Regions from separate parts of the Homo sapiens genome. Here regions 1 and 3 are each linked to region 2. Evidence: promoter capture Hi-C in 16 types of primary human blood cells and fetal thymus (Javierre and others, 2016). All regions are on one chromosome and are shown on one strand. Each heading gives the region's core, a stretch centred on a gene start or on the middle of the fragment in contact. The rest is flanking DNA. Distances are from core to core; before and after follow the strand shown.

What was found. The method cuts DNA at HindIII sites, captures the fragments that hold promoters and counts their contacts. A CHiCAGO score of 5 or more calls a contact.
Region 1: a contact is called between a fragment that was not itself captured here and the fragment with the promoter of CCNA2 in region 2, in 1 of 17 cell types (total CD4 T cells). The highest score is 6.2, in total CD4 T cells.
Region 3: a contact is called between a fragment that was not itself captured here and the fragment with the promoter of CCNA2 in region 2, in 1 of 17 cell types (naive B cells). The highest score is 5.5, in naive B cells.

Annotation. Positions count from the first base shown.
Region 1 is chr4:120,077,150-120,081,495 of GRCh38, reverse strand. The region is part of intron 1 of MAD2L1-DT (MAD2L1 divergent transcript); the gene reads right to left. Among named protein-coding and RNA genes, the nearest start is that of MAD2L1-DT, 12 kb to the right of the region's middle. The HindIII fragment of the contact is 3,295 bases long and covers 720-4,014 here.
Region 2 is chr4:121,821,735-121,826,189 of GRCh38, reverse strand. CCNA2 (cyclin A2) reads left to right here and starts at 2,307. Exons shown (of 8, transcript NM_001237.5): 1 at 2,307-2,774; 2 at 3,544-3,787. The coding sequence starts at 2,562. BBS7 (Bardet-Biedl syndrome 7) reads left to right here. Exons shown (of 19, transcript NM_176824.3): 19 at 197-1,861. The coding sequence ends at 330. RefSeq lists enhancers at 2,459-2,528, 2,719-2,768. The HindIII fragment of the contact is 5,182 bases long and covers 1,384-4,455 here.
Region 3 is chr4:120,052,589-120,056,501 of GRCh38, reverse strand. It overlaps MAD2L1 (mitotic arrest deficient 2 like 1), which reads left to right. Exons shown (of 5, transcript NM_002358.4): 5 at 1-879. Among named protein-coding and RNA genes, the nearest start is that of MAD2L1, 12 kb to the left of the region's middle. The HindIII fragment of the contact is 355 bases long and covers 1,312-1,666 here.

The DNA.
Region 1 (4,346 bases), core at 1,118-3,617, 1.7 Mb after region 2:
CAAGCAGAAGTGCAGGACTGAATCATTAATAAAATATTTCATTTATAATTAAAAAGTCAATTTTACTTGATGCTTTCTTATTGCCTTCAGTAAAATTTGCATTAAGCATTAATTACTCAGAATTTCTACTTTCTAAAGCCTTAAGTAACTTTTTTTTAAGTAACATAAAAATAATTTCAAGATACTTTCAAGAAACTGCTATAATGATGCTTTTAAAGGAAGGTTGTTATAGATTAAATGGTTTCAGAAACATACTATGTTTGTGTAAATATAGCCATATTCCAGAACCTAGATTTCTTTCTATTCATTCTTCATCTCTTATATATTTTCACCTTATATATTTTAATATTCACCATTTTTGGAAACTAAGTCACTACAAGAGATGGCAGAAATAGATAATTAAATAGAAAAACAATTTATCCAGATAGAAATAAGCACTAATATTTTGATATTTTAAGAAAAGCACCAAGATCAAACTAATACATAAGTTTCTGACCTTAATTTTAAAGACTTTCAAATTTAATTAAAATTGAGTGAAAACTTAGTAAAATGGTAAGAAACTTATAGGGTTACAAGTGCTACTATCCTTATCTTCCACTCACAAATACAACCACACTGAATTTAATATGCTCACCGGTTAGTCATAATACCAAAAAAATCAGAAATCTTATTGAGCTTATGTAATAGGATAGCATAAAACATTAATAACCATTAAAGCTTAGCAAATATTATGGAATATATCAGTAACATTAGGAAATGAATGACACACAGCATCATCATTTTATTGGAATTCCCTATTGTGAAGCTGAAGTGTGCAGGTCTACTCTGAATAAATTCAGAACAGAAAACAGGAAAAGTTCATACAAAAAAAGAGCACAGAAAAACAGAGGAGGTCAAGAAAGGACCGGAGCTAAAGAGAAGACTGAAAATTTGGCAGAATTAAAGGACTAAAAATCATCAGATATGGAAGATGGATAAAAAGGTGAAATTAATGAATCTATGATAATGAGGCAAAACCAGAGATTTTCCTGGCAATTATAGCACTTACTGGAATTTAAATAGTGAAGATAATTAAAATAGTGAAGTCTTAAGTGCCTCGACCTGGACTGTCACTATAGCTTTCCAATCTGTACTTCACCTGTGCTACAGTAACGTTACTAAAACACAACTTTATATTGTCCCCAATATAATTCTATAAAAACTTTTAGTGTCTCTCTAACGTCTCCTGAGAAAAGTCCAAACTTTTAGCCTGTCACACAAGGCTCTCTAGAAAAAGAACCCAGATGTAATCTGATCACATGAAGACTCTGTCCTGGGGAAAAGTGAGCTAATTTGATGCTTCCATATTTTGTCCCATAGATTTTTAAGTTCTGTGCCTGTGACGTCCTCTCTCTACACATCTATACCTATAAAGGTTTTTATCCCCACCTTTACTTTATGGTCCAGACTGGACTTTAATCATCTCCGTTAAACCTCTAATTGACACCCATCTTTGCCTGCCTAAGTTCTAAGCACTCTTCAAGTTCTAAGTACTCTTCAAAATGTTTATAACATATACTATACCTAACACTGTGGAAAATGTTTATAACTCTTCAAGTTTTACATCCTCCAAGAATATTTCTTTTGCTATCTTTGAATTTGTTTGGCAATTACTGCATACATTCAATTGTTTCTCATCCTGTACCTTCTTATGTGCAGCTATTTTTGTGTAATAATTCCCCAACTAGATTCCCAGCTAGATTTTTCCTCTTGCATCCATACAGCACCGCACTGTAAGATAAATAGTACTCAATAAATATCTATTTAGGAAAACAAATATCCATTTATTTCTCCTTCATTGACTTATCATCCCACTCCTCATAATGGCTGCTTTAAAAATCTTTCCAACTCTTGGCGTGGCGCAGTGGCTCACCCCTGTAATCCCAGCACTTTGGGAGGCCAAGGCGGGCGGATCATGAGGTCAGGAGATCGAGACCATCCTGGCTAACACAGTGAAACCCCGTCTCTACTAAAAAACACAAAAAATTAGCCTGGCGTGGTGGCGGGCTCCTCTAGTCCCAGCTACTCGGGAGGCTGAGGCAGGAGAATGGCATGAACTCGGGAGACGGAGCTTGCAGAGAGCCGAGATCGCGCCACTACACTCTAGCCTAGGCGACAGAGCAAGACCCTGTCTCAAAAAAAAAAAAAAAAAAAAATTTCCAACTCTTTTCACTTATGTGACATTATCTTTCCCTTCCTCCACTTCCCTATCTCACCTCCTCCTCCACTGAGAAGCTAAAGATTATTCTTTACTTGCATTTCAAGAAAAAATGAGAATTTATCTGCATCCTCACATCTCCCTTCTTCCTTGTTTTCAATTTCTAAGAGGGAATTGTCTCTTCTGTTTATTCTCTACTTGGGTCCTTGATGCCATTGCTTTCTGTGGCCTCAGGTGTCTGGCTCTATTAGTTAGGCCTTTCCAACTTTCAACTTCAGTATTTATATTTCTTTTGCTCTCTTTCCTCTAAATATCCTAAACATAAAATTCCCAAGATCCAGCAATTGCTTATGTGGTTTCTCCACTCTCCATTTCTCTTGCAAACCTTTTACTTCTATCTTCTTAGCCTTACTTCCAAACTCCTTGTAAAAGACTTTTATACCCTACCGTGTGACCCAAATTGTCTCCTCTTAGTTCACCAAAAATCTTTCAAGTACAAAATCTGTGACTCTTCCTCAGTCATTCTTATTTGTGCTGAATTATTTACTAAACTACTAAAATAGTATTTTTCTACCTAATCCAAATTCACTAAATAGGTTCTGACATTCCTCTCACAATTTGCCTCCTACTTTTCCATTTCTTCTGAGTTTCCTTCACTGCCTCTTCTTCCTCAATGTGTCATTTTATTAGCTATTACCTCAAAAAAAATTTTTTTTTTTTGCCTGGCCTAAAACCACTTGAAGGAAAATGAATCGAATGCCACAAACTTATCTATATCATCTCCATGTATAACAGCTCCACACCATGATCCCCCAAAACCCAGGCTGTTCTTCAGAGTACAACCAAACACATCTCAACACATTTTTAAAATGTCTCTCAAATTTGTCATCTTTTTACATTCCTGCTGTATTGCATATTCTCATTTCCTTTTGTCTGAGCTATCAATAAAATTGGCAGGACAAAGAGTAGGCTATTTCAAATGCCATTCTATCCCTTGGCCAGAATATTTGTTTAATGCCTCCTCTTAGTTCACTGAAGATCTTTTAAGTAGAAAATTGACAAGATCTTTTAAGCACAAAATTTTTAAAAAATTCCTGTTTTTGCAGCCCTAGTCAGGGTACCCCTTTTGGCCATCCACTCTTAGCCAGATGAGCCAGTATTGCACCCTGGATCCTACCTCTTGTTTCTTTTCCTCCAGTTTTGGACTCTTTTCTTCCACTTTTGGATTATTTTCCTTGTTCCAATTCTGTGACTTTCCAGCCATTCAGCTCCATTGGTTTCCATTGCTGAATGGGTCTCAGGAGTTACATAGCAAGGATGGAGGAATATTAAGGACCCACTATAGTTTGCCTCAAATTAGAGTTATCTAAAATATAGTCAGATCTTTGATGCTTTCAGGATTCATATTCTGGTACCATCTAGATTGCTTGGATTTGACTCCAGTTCTCCTAGCTGGGTGACCTTAGCTAAATTATTCAACTTCCTTCTGTAACTTAATTCAGGTAATAGTAGTATCTAACTCTTGAGCTAATGAGGGATTAAATAAAATGATTCTTGTAAAGCACATAGAAATGTGCCTGGCAGATAGTATGTGGTTAATAATGTTGGCTATCATTATTATATATGTTATAAGAGTTTCTATCTCATCTGTGCCTTAAGTTGTATTATCTAAAGCCTCCTTTAGTTATGCTAAACTAAACATGTACCAACCCAGGAAAGGTGCGTGGAAAAGTGGTGAAAAGCTGTCTTATTAACAACAACAGTAACAATATAATAATAAAACAATAACAATAACATATTAGCATTAAGCCAAAGCTTCATTTAAATTATCTCATGTAATACTCAGAAAAATTATATGTGACAAGTACTATTGTTACATCCATTTTACCGATAAGGAAAATAACTCCTATATAATTCTTCTTAAATTGTCCAGATAGTCTGCTTCTAAGAAGTTTCTCTGGAACATGCTAGGCTAACATCTTTTTTTGACATATCTGCATGTGATCTCTGCTGTTGGTAGATTGCTTGGAGATTCCTGCTTCTTTTAGACAAGACCATGACACTCCCTCATTATGCAACCAGTAATAAAGTTTTTTTTTTTTATGTGATCTAAGTGGACTTTTATGACAGGATTTGTTGAAACCCCTAA
Region 2 (4,455 bases), core at 1,058-3,557:
TGATTTATATCTTGAAACTTGTTTTAAAATCCCCCCAAAATGACTATTTTTAAAAACATGGCTTTTAGGTTTGTGTATGTTAAATCATGGAATTACAGGTGCTTAAAAATAGATTATCAAGCAATTACTTTAGTGAAATACTGTGTCATTAAATATAACTAATCACTGACAGGAAATTTATGTTTTTTCTTTAAAGGCATGATCACTGATCTTTTCATAGATAAATTTAAGTTTAAAGGCACCAATGTAAAAACTAAAGTACCCCTTCTATTGGAAATTCTGGACAGTTATGACCAAAATGCATTGATTTCATTCTTCGATGCAGCATGACATACAAATAAGGTAAAGTCCCAAAGAAGTGGTCTGTTTAAATGAAAAATGTTAAAAGAGAATTAGAAGTTAACTGTGTATGTACTTTAATTTCAAATGCTTTTTTATATCTAAAAATATTTGAGATATAATGGCTTTTTAAAGTAATGCTTCTATTTCTTTTGACAAATTGAACTTTCTAAAACTAAAAGAGTCTTTTTATTTTTAAAACACAAGTAGAATGATTTAAATAGGATTTTAATGAATTTTTGGCAAGTGGCTGTTTTAATTTTTAAATTGAGAAGTAATATGTGGAAAATTAAAATATATTCAAATGTATTACAAGGTACATAAACACATAAACATGTAGACCGCTTTATAGGCTTCAAAATGTATTTTTATATATTACCTTATTTGATCTTCACAACTGTTGTAAAATTTGTCAAATCATATAAGAAAACTGATTCTCAGTGAAATTTTGTGATTAAGAGGACATGCTAATATTTTGTAAAGCTGGGACCAGAACCCAAGTACTGGTACTTGCTTTGTGTCCTGGTTACTATGTATGTTGCCAGCTAGTGGAAATAACCTACCAATTGTTTTTTCTAGGAGATAGGATTGATTTGCAACTGATATTCCTTTTGCTTGGTAGTGTTTTATGACTCTGCTGCAGTTTGTGGAAATGCTGGACTTGGCTCAGTGCTATAAATTGTAGCCAGGAAATAAGAAGAGCTTACACAGAGTCGGGGGATCTTAATTAGACATGCTGTAACCAGTGGAGCTATTCAGCGTGCTTCAAGTGAAGAGTGCAGAAATAGTGATGCCATCTTAGATTTTCCTACACTAGTATCTTCTAGATCTCTTTTTATCATATATGACATTAAGGCTACAGAAGTTTTGTGCATTAATCTTAATTCATATTTATTAATTTCAAGGGAATATTGAAAGGTTTTAAAATGGCATACAGATAATGGAAAATAAGCTTTATGTTTCAAGAAGGGCAGACTCACGAATTTTTTAGAAAACAGTGCTTCTTAATGATATGCTATTATACTTATTAGTTATGTGCAAGCTTTGTATATTCTTATATTTATATATAAATATAAAAATTTGTTAAAGGCACGTATAGTTAAGAGAGTTTTATTTTAATAAGGTCATATTGTTTTTACTATGTTTAAAAAACTTTACTTCTGAAAGGAACATAATTATATCTAGGTCACTAGAACGTCATTGTGTTTTTTGTTGGTTGCCACAGCTTGGGGAAAAATAGAAAAAAATTAATGACTGTATTTGAATATTTTGTAATGCACTGCTATTTATTATATATATCAACAGTAGTTCAAGGTGCCATCTTAAATTAATTGCATCTTCATTAGGAAAAATAAAAAGCATAAAACACAATTTCTGGTTACTATGAATAAACGCCTAAATGTTAAGATGACATTACAGTCTTGACACTTGAGTACTGTATTACTATGTGAGCTCCGTGTTAAATAATTTATGCACATTATTTAATCCTAACAACCATATGACTGTAGTTATTAGTCCCTATTAACACATAAGAAAACGGAGAATCGGAGATACTGAAAAACGTGCCCCAGATTTTAGACCTTTGGAAAAAGTCACTTAAGCTAACTAGACGTCCCAGAGCTAAAGGCTGGGCAACCCAAATGATAGTCGCCAAAGTTTAATTCCGTTTAATTCCCTAAAAGGCTTAGAGTCAGCCTTCGGACAGCCTCGCTCACTAGGTGGCTCAGCTTAAAATAATCGGAAGCGTCGGGCCCTAAATCCTACCTCTCCCCGCCCCGCGCAGGCGTTTTCTCCCGCCCCAGCCAGTTTGTTTCTCCCTCCTGCCCCGCCCCTGCTCAGTTTCCTTTGGTTTACCCTTCACTCGCCTGCGACCCTGTCGCCTTGAATGACGTCAAGGCCGCGAGCGCTTTCATTGGTCCATTTCAATAGTCGCGGGATACTTGAACTGCAAGAACAGCCGCCGCTCCGGCGGGCTGCTCGCTGCATCTCTGGGCGTCTTTGGCTCGCCACGCTGGGCAGTGCCTGCCTGCGCCTTTCGCAACCTCCTCGGCCCTGCGTGGTCTCGAGCTGGGTGAGCGAGCGGGCGGGCTGGTAGGCTGGCCTGGGCTGCGACCGGCGGCTACGACTATTCTTTGGCCGGGTCGGTGCGAGTGGTCGGCTGGGCAGAGTGCACGCTGCTTGGCGCCGCAGGCTGATCCCGCCGTCCACTCCCGGGAGCAGTGATGTTGGGCAACTCTGCGCCGGGGCCTGCGACCCGCGAGGCGGGCTCGGCGCTGCTAGCATTGCAGCAGACGGCGCTCCAAGAGGACCAGGAGAATATCAACCCGGAAAAGGCAGCGCCCGTCCAACAACCGCGGACCCGGGCCGCGCTGGCGGTACTGAAGTCCGGGAACCCGCGGGGTCTAGCGCAGCAGCAGAGGCCGAAGACGAGACGGGTAAAGGGATGCGGGATATCTGCAGGAGGGTGGGTCGAGCAGGGTTTGGCATTGGCTTAGCAGGCAGAGAAGAGTGGCGAGAAGGCATGTCCTGGGCTTTTGGAAGGGGGCCAGGGTCTGGAGTGCAGTTGGTGCTGGTGTGTGGTTTGCCACAGTAGGAGTTCTCCCATATTAGCATCAGGACCCCGCCAACACTGTGTGTATGCTGCCGGTCTGCTCTCTATAGGGGGCATCTGCCTGTACATAATGGGGTCAAACCAAGCTCTAAAACGTGTAGTCTTCGCTCAGCTCCGCGCCTTTCTCTCCACTTTTAAACCCCAGGCACTGCTGTAGGACTCTGACCCCTATCCTCCTCACGCTTAAGAGATGACCTCTACTTTAGAAAAGCGTGTACAAAATACTTTGCTTTTGGCAAATTCCGCCATTTTAGCCGGATTTGCTCTGTTGCTCCACCCTCGGGCGACAGTGGTGAACCAACAATTTTTTTGCTGTCTTTCCTAAACTTGTCACGTATTGGCCTGTCACCCGACCCTTCTTGTGGCCCTGATAAGTTTTGCATAATTCCACCTAGTGTTATCTATTGATAGCCTTTGTGGGAATGCCTGTGACAAATGGGAACATCCCTTCTCTTTTGAATACTGAAACTCTTCTTTGTCCCAGAAAGTTTAATTCCTGATAGAGTATTTGGGAGAAAAAGCAAAGGCCAACACCCATAAGAGAAAGAATGCAAGACTAGTAGGCTCAAAGCCAGTTATTAATTTTTTTTTAGGTTGCACCCCTTAAGGATCTTCCTGTAAATGATGAGCATGTCACCGTTCCTCCTTGGAAAGCAAACAGTAAACAGCCTGCGTTCACCATTCATGTGGATGAAGCAGAAAAAGAAGCTCAGAAGAAGCCAGCTGAATCTCAAAAAATAGAGCGTGAAGATGCCCTGGCTTTTAATTCAGCCATTAGTTTACCTGGACCCAGAAAACCATTGGTCCCTCTTGATTATCCAATGGATGGTAGTTTTGGTAAGTTTTAAGGAAAATCTGTGTGGAATTACGGTAATTATAATTATTAGATGATATTAATGATTTGCATTTTAAGATGTCTTATGTAGTCATTTTGACTATAGTGAGTTAGGTTTAATGTAACAAGGCTTAGAAAGGATGTGACTTATCTCAGATCTCACAGCTAACACTTGACTTGGTGACATACAAAAAGATCCTTATCCAGTGCTCTTTCAGGTTCACTGCCAGTCACATCAATCTAATTATAATTAGATCTTAAATGCTTATTTTAATCTGATCCCATAAATGTGTTCTTGGTTGGGAGAATAGATTTCAGTTTTATTTAACTCACTTATATATCACTTAGTGCTATTTGAAGATGCAGTCTTAAATATTGTGATTACATAACGTCTCTTCCAGTTTTATAATTTTGTTTCTATAAAACCAGTCTGGATTAGCATCTGATACCAGAAAGTGACACTTTTCCTCCTACAAGTAAATAGTTGTACCATGGCTGTTTACTCTTACCCATGTATTAAAGTAGCTTCTGTAAACAGCTCTTTGCAGTTTGTACTATTTCTTTGCCCTAGGGATATTGAGTCACTGGACAGCTCACTAAATCCAATCTCATTTTAGTTTTAGTTGTATTGATTGTGAGGAAGGAGGGGTGAGCAGGAAAAGTCCTTTGG
Region 3 (3,913 bases), core at 240-2,739, 1.8 Mb after region 2:
ATGAAAGATCAGAATAGCTATGTAATGCTACTTTGTAACTCTTATATTTTCCACCAGATGTCACTAATGCTGTAATATTCAAATTAAGATGACTTTCTTTTGGTTCTAAAGGCTGTAAGCTTATTGGAAAAGCAAGGTTACTCAGCATTGGAATTCCTGGCAACAAATATATAAATACATTAGGGGAATAAACACTTAGCATTTATTATTTACTAGTCACTTCACATGAATTTTTATTTAATTCTCATGCTTTTGTGCACAAGTAAAACTGGGGGTCAATGGGCATGCAAATTGTGTCGTGGTTTTTGAAGTTTAGTGGTCTCTCCTATCCCTGGCCAAGGAAGTATGCAAATTGTATTGTGGTTTTTGAAGTTTAGGTGATCTCTTCCTTCTATCCCTAGCCAAGGAAGTTCATCCTGACTCCCCAACAAGCATATCAAAAGGAGTGTTTCGTCACCTTTTTCCTCTTACCCTTTACATCCTTTTAGCAATAAAGTGTTCAGAACAAACTGGTTTTCCTTTACTGTGCTTTGCAAAACTTATTCATGTTTTATTGGGTGACTTTGTATTTACACTTTCCTCAGATAGTCTGTTGTCAGATGACTTTGACCAATGATTGGGAGGAACCAAATACAGAGGATTTTATCCTATGCCTAATCTATATTGTCTACAGAGTAAATCAGGTATGAATTTGTGAACAGTAATGAAACAATTTTCCAACTAATCAGAAGAATTGTTTGTTAAGTAACCTTAATTACTCAGTTTTTGGTGAATTGTTTGCGGCTTAACTTGTAAATAATTTCTTATTCTTTTTTTAAATGTATGAAATATTTCTAGTTATTTTGTTCAATGTGACTGATAAAAGTTTATATTGGAATAGCTGTGAAATGGAAACTGTCTACTCAATTTTAAATTTTATTAGTTATATATTTTTAAAAATAGATCTTTTAGAGATATTTCCATTCTTCATAATTATGACTTTTAAAGCCAGCAGTATTCACTGAGGCTAAAAAAAAAAAAAAAAACAAACGTAGTTGGGCAAGCTACTTAATCTTCATTAGAGTTGACAATTCTGTTCCAATCTGGCAAAAACATTGTAGCCCTAGCAACAAGACTATTAGAAAAGGCCTAGAGTGAAAAATGTCAGAGTTGACCCTCTGATTACACAAGTTGGTTTATGTTACCATGTCACCTATTTTTGTCCTCCACCATGTGATCTATTTTTATACCAGAGAAACATAATATAGTTACATTTACTTGTACAAAGCCCATTTCATCTACATTTATCTGCACCATTTTGCTATGCAAGCTTGTTTGCACAAAGGAACTTACATGAGATCAAAATCTTATTTTCTTGGAATTTTATCTGTGTGGAAAAAGGCATCCCAAATATAAGCTGGACCACCCATAGTCCATTTCCTTGCAAGGGAAAGAGTCCAAACACTTTAAAAAACTTTCTAGATATGGACATATCTAGTGGATGCCTAGACATGGATATGAATTTCTTTCTGAAATGGCAGTCTCACTGACCAAGTACAGATGCTAGTGGTTTTAAAGATTGGGTCTGTGATGTGCAAAATATTTCATATCTAACATGCAGTTATTGGATCACTGTGTTCACACTCATAAGAGTCAGTACAGCTCTTTAAAAACAGGCTGTAAAGCTTACAGCCTCCAAGTCTAGGAAAGGAAATTCATGGGTATTGATCATCTACTGTATGCCAGGCACCACTGAAGTGCTTTACATCTGTTCAGCTGACTCCTAAATGAATGGAGGTTGGGGTTAGTGGGGAAATGGAAGACTTGGGCCACAAGCTGTGGTCTTAGAAACTGATGATGGGACATGGGGAGAGCCATGAGATAAAGGAAATTAAGTCTGAGTTCCAAATGAGGAGTCCTCTGGAGCAAGGAACAGCCCCCAAACCTCAATTTAGGGCTGTGAGGGAGAAGAGGGTGGGGAGAGAAGGACTGCATCCAAAATGGAAATTCTACAACTCCGCTGATGCCTCCATCGCCCCAGAGGAGACCCATAAAGCAAAACCATGAAGAAACACTGGGGAGTCTGAATCCTTTATAGAACATCTTTAGCTCAGTTTGTGGGCAGGGAAGGGATCAGTCTTCAAATTCATTCATTACATGCATTATCTCAATCCTTGCAACAACCCTGTGAGAATTGATATCCCCACTTTATAGATTTAAGAACTAAGATTCAGGAAGGTTAAGTAATTTGCCCAACTGCAAACATCCAGAATCCATGTGCTGGCCCAATTCCCAAACCAATAGGAACCAAATCCTTTTATTATATCTTGTTTCCTCTCAGAGTCTAGGGGACAGAGGAGGGTTCTCCTGCTCCAGACTTAGCTACAAAAAGACTAGAATACCGTGTGAATCTCACTCCAAATTGAGGAAGTAAGAACTTGTAGTCAAAATATTTGAATATTGCATTAACTTTTCATAATACTGCCATTAAATGTTCACACAGGGCATTTTGCTTTAAAACAGGAGCATTCATTTTCTTTCCAGCAACATTTCTTCTCTAATTCTTTCACTTGTTTTTGTAACCAAAGGTGTGTTGGAATTTGTGTTTAACATGTAATCCTGATCCTTCTACTTTGTGAGTTTTAACCAACTTGAGACATAGATGCAGGAAACAGAAGAAGATTGAAATTTATTATATGTATTATTACCCAAATTACAGCACTCTATAGTAAAGCTGGATTGGAGAATGAGCCTTACACTTAAGTCAGAAATAGGGTTTGCTACTCCTTCTTAAGTGAACCAAGCAGCCTGTGTAGTCACAGGTGGAAGGGCCAGACAACTTCATTCTTCCTTCTCCAGCCCAACTCCAACCTAGGAGGAAGCCTTGCATGCTGAATTGCCAAGGGCAAAATTAGAAAGCACTGTACTCGAGCTGCTACAAGCCATGGAAAAATTTCTTCTTTGCTGCTTGGGATGGGCTGAGAGAAAAAGTGGAGAGAGGGCCCCAGAACGTTACTCCAGTGCTGTTTTCTGTCATCAGGATTGGAACAGAAACCCTAAGAGTGGAGTAACAAGCATCCCTCCTGCTATTTGCCAGCTTTTTCATCTCTTGGTATATTACAGTGTGTGTTCCACTGGCATTATGTAAGTTGATTTTAGGTAGCATGATGACAGGCATTTTTTTAAAAAGTTTTAGTAATATATATGTTGTAATCAGAAAAATATGTAACATTGTTTATCATGAGTAAAAAATTGAGCGAAAGATTTTAAAAGTATACACAATATTTAAGGAAAAATATTATATCAGTATTAGTGTGAGCGATATGCAGACACGAAGGCCACATATGAAGGAAGGCTGGGAAACAATGTCATAACCCACTGGACTTAAGCAACTTGGAAGTAAGCCAGGGTGGGCTGTTCCTCTCAGCAGGGAAGTTGCTTGCTCACAGGGCCGTCATGTTCTCACTTTCCTAAACCCTCCTTCTTTCCACACTAATTCCCTCCAGAGCTGCCAATGGGCATTTCGCTTTTTGCCAACAAAAGTCTCTAGCAACATGAGTCAGACAGAACTGCATGCAGCACCCTAAGCAGAAAATGTATTCCCCATTCTATTTCCTATTACTGATTATGCTCAGTCATGTTGTCCAGAATTAATGAATGTATTCATTTTATATTCATGTATACATTCATGAATGTATTCATGAATGCCAAGACCAGATCAACAACATAAAAATATTCTAAAGTTGAACAATATGAAACTCTTCTCATTTTTTAACCCTCCAGACTAAATTCCCTTGCAAATGAAAAGCCCATAGAAATTAAGGTCAAATTCCTTCATTCCCAATTCTATACAATTGGCTCATTCTCAGCCAGAGGGTCTTACACTGATCTCTGGGTTCCTATAAGTTCAGCTATAACCTGGGCCGTCTTTCAT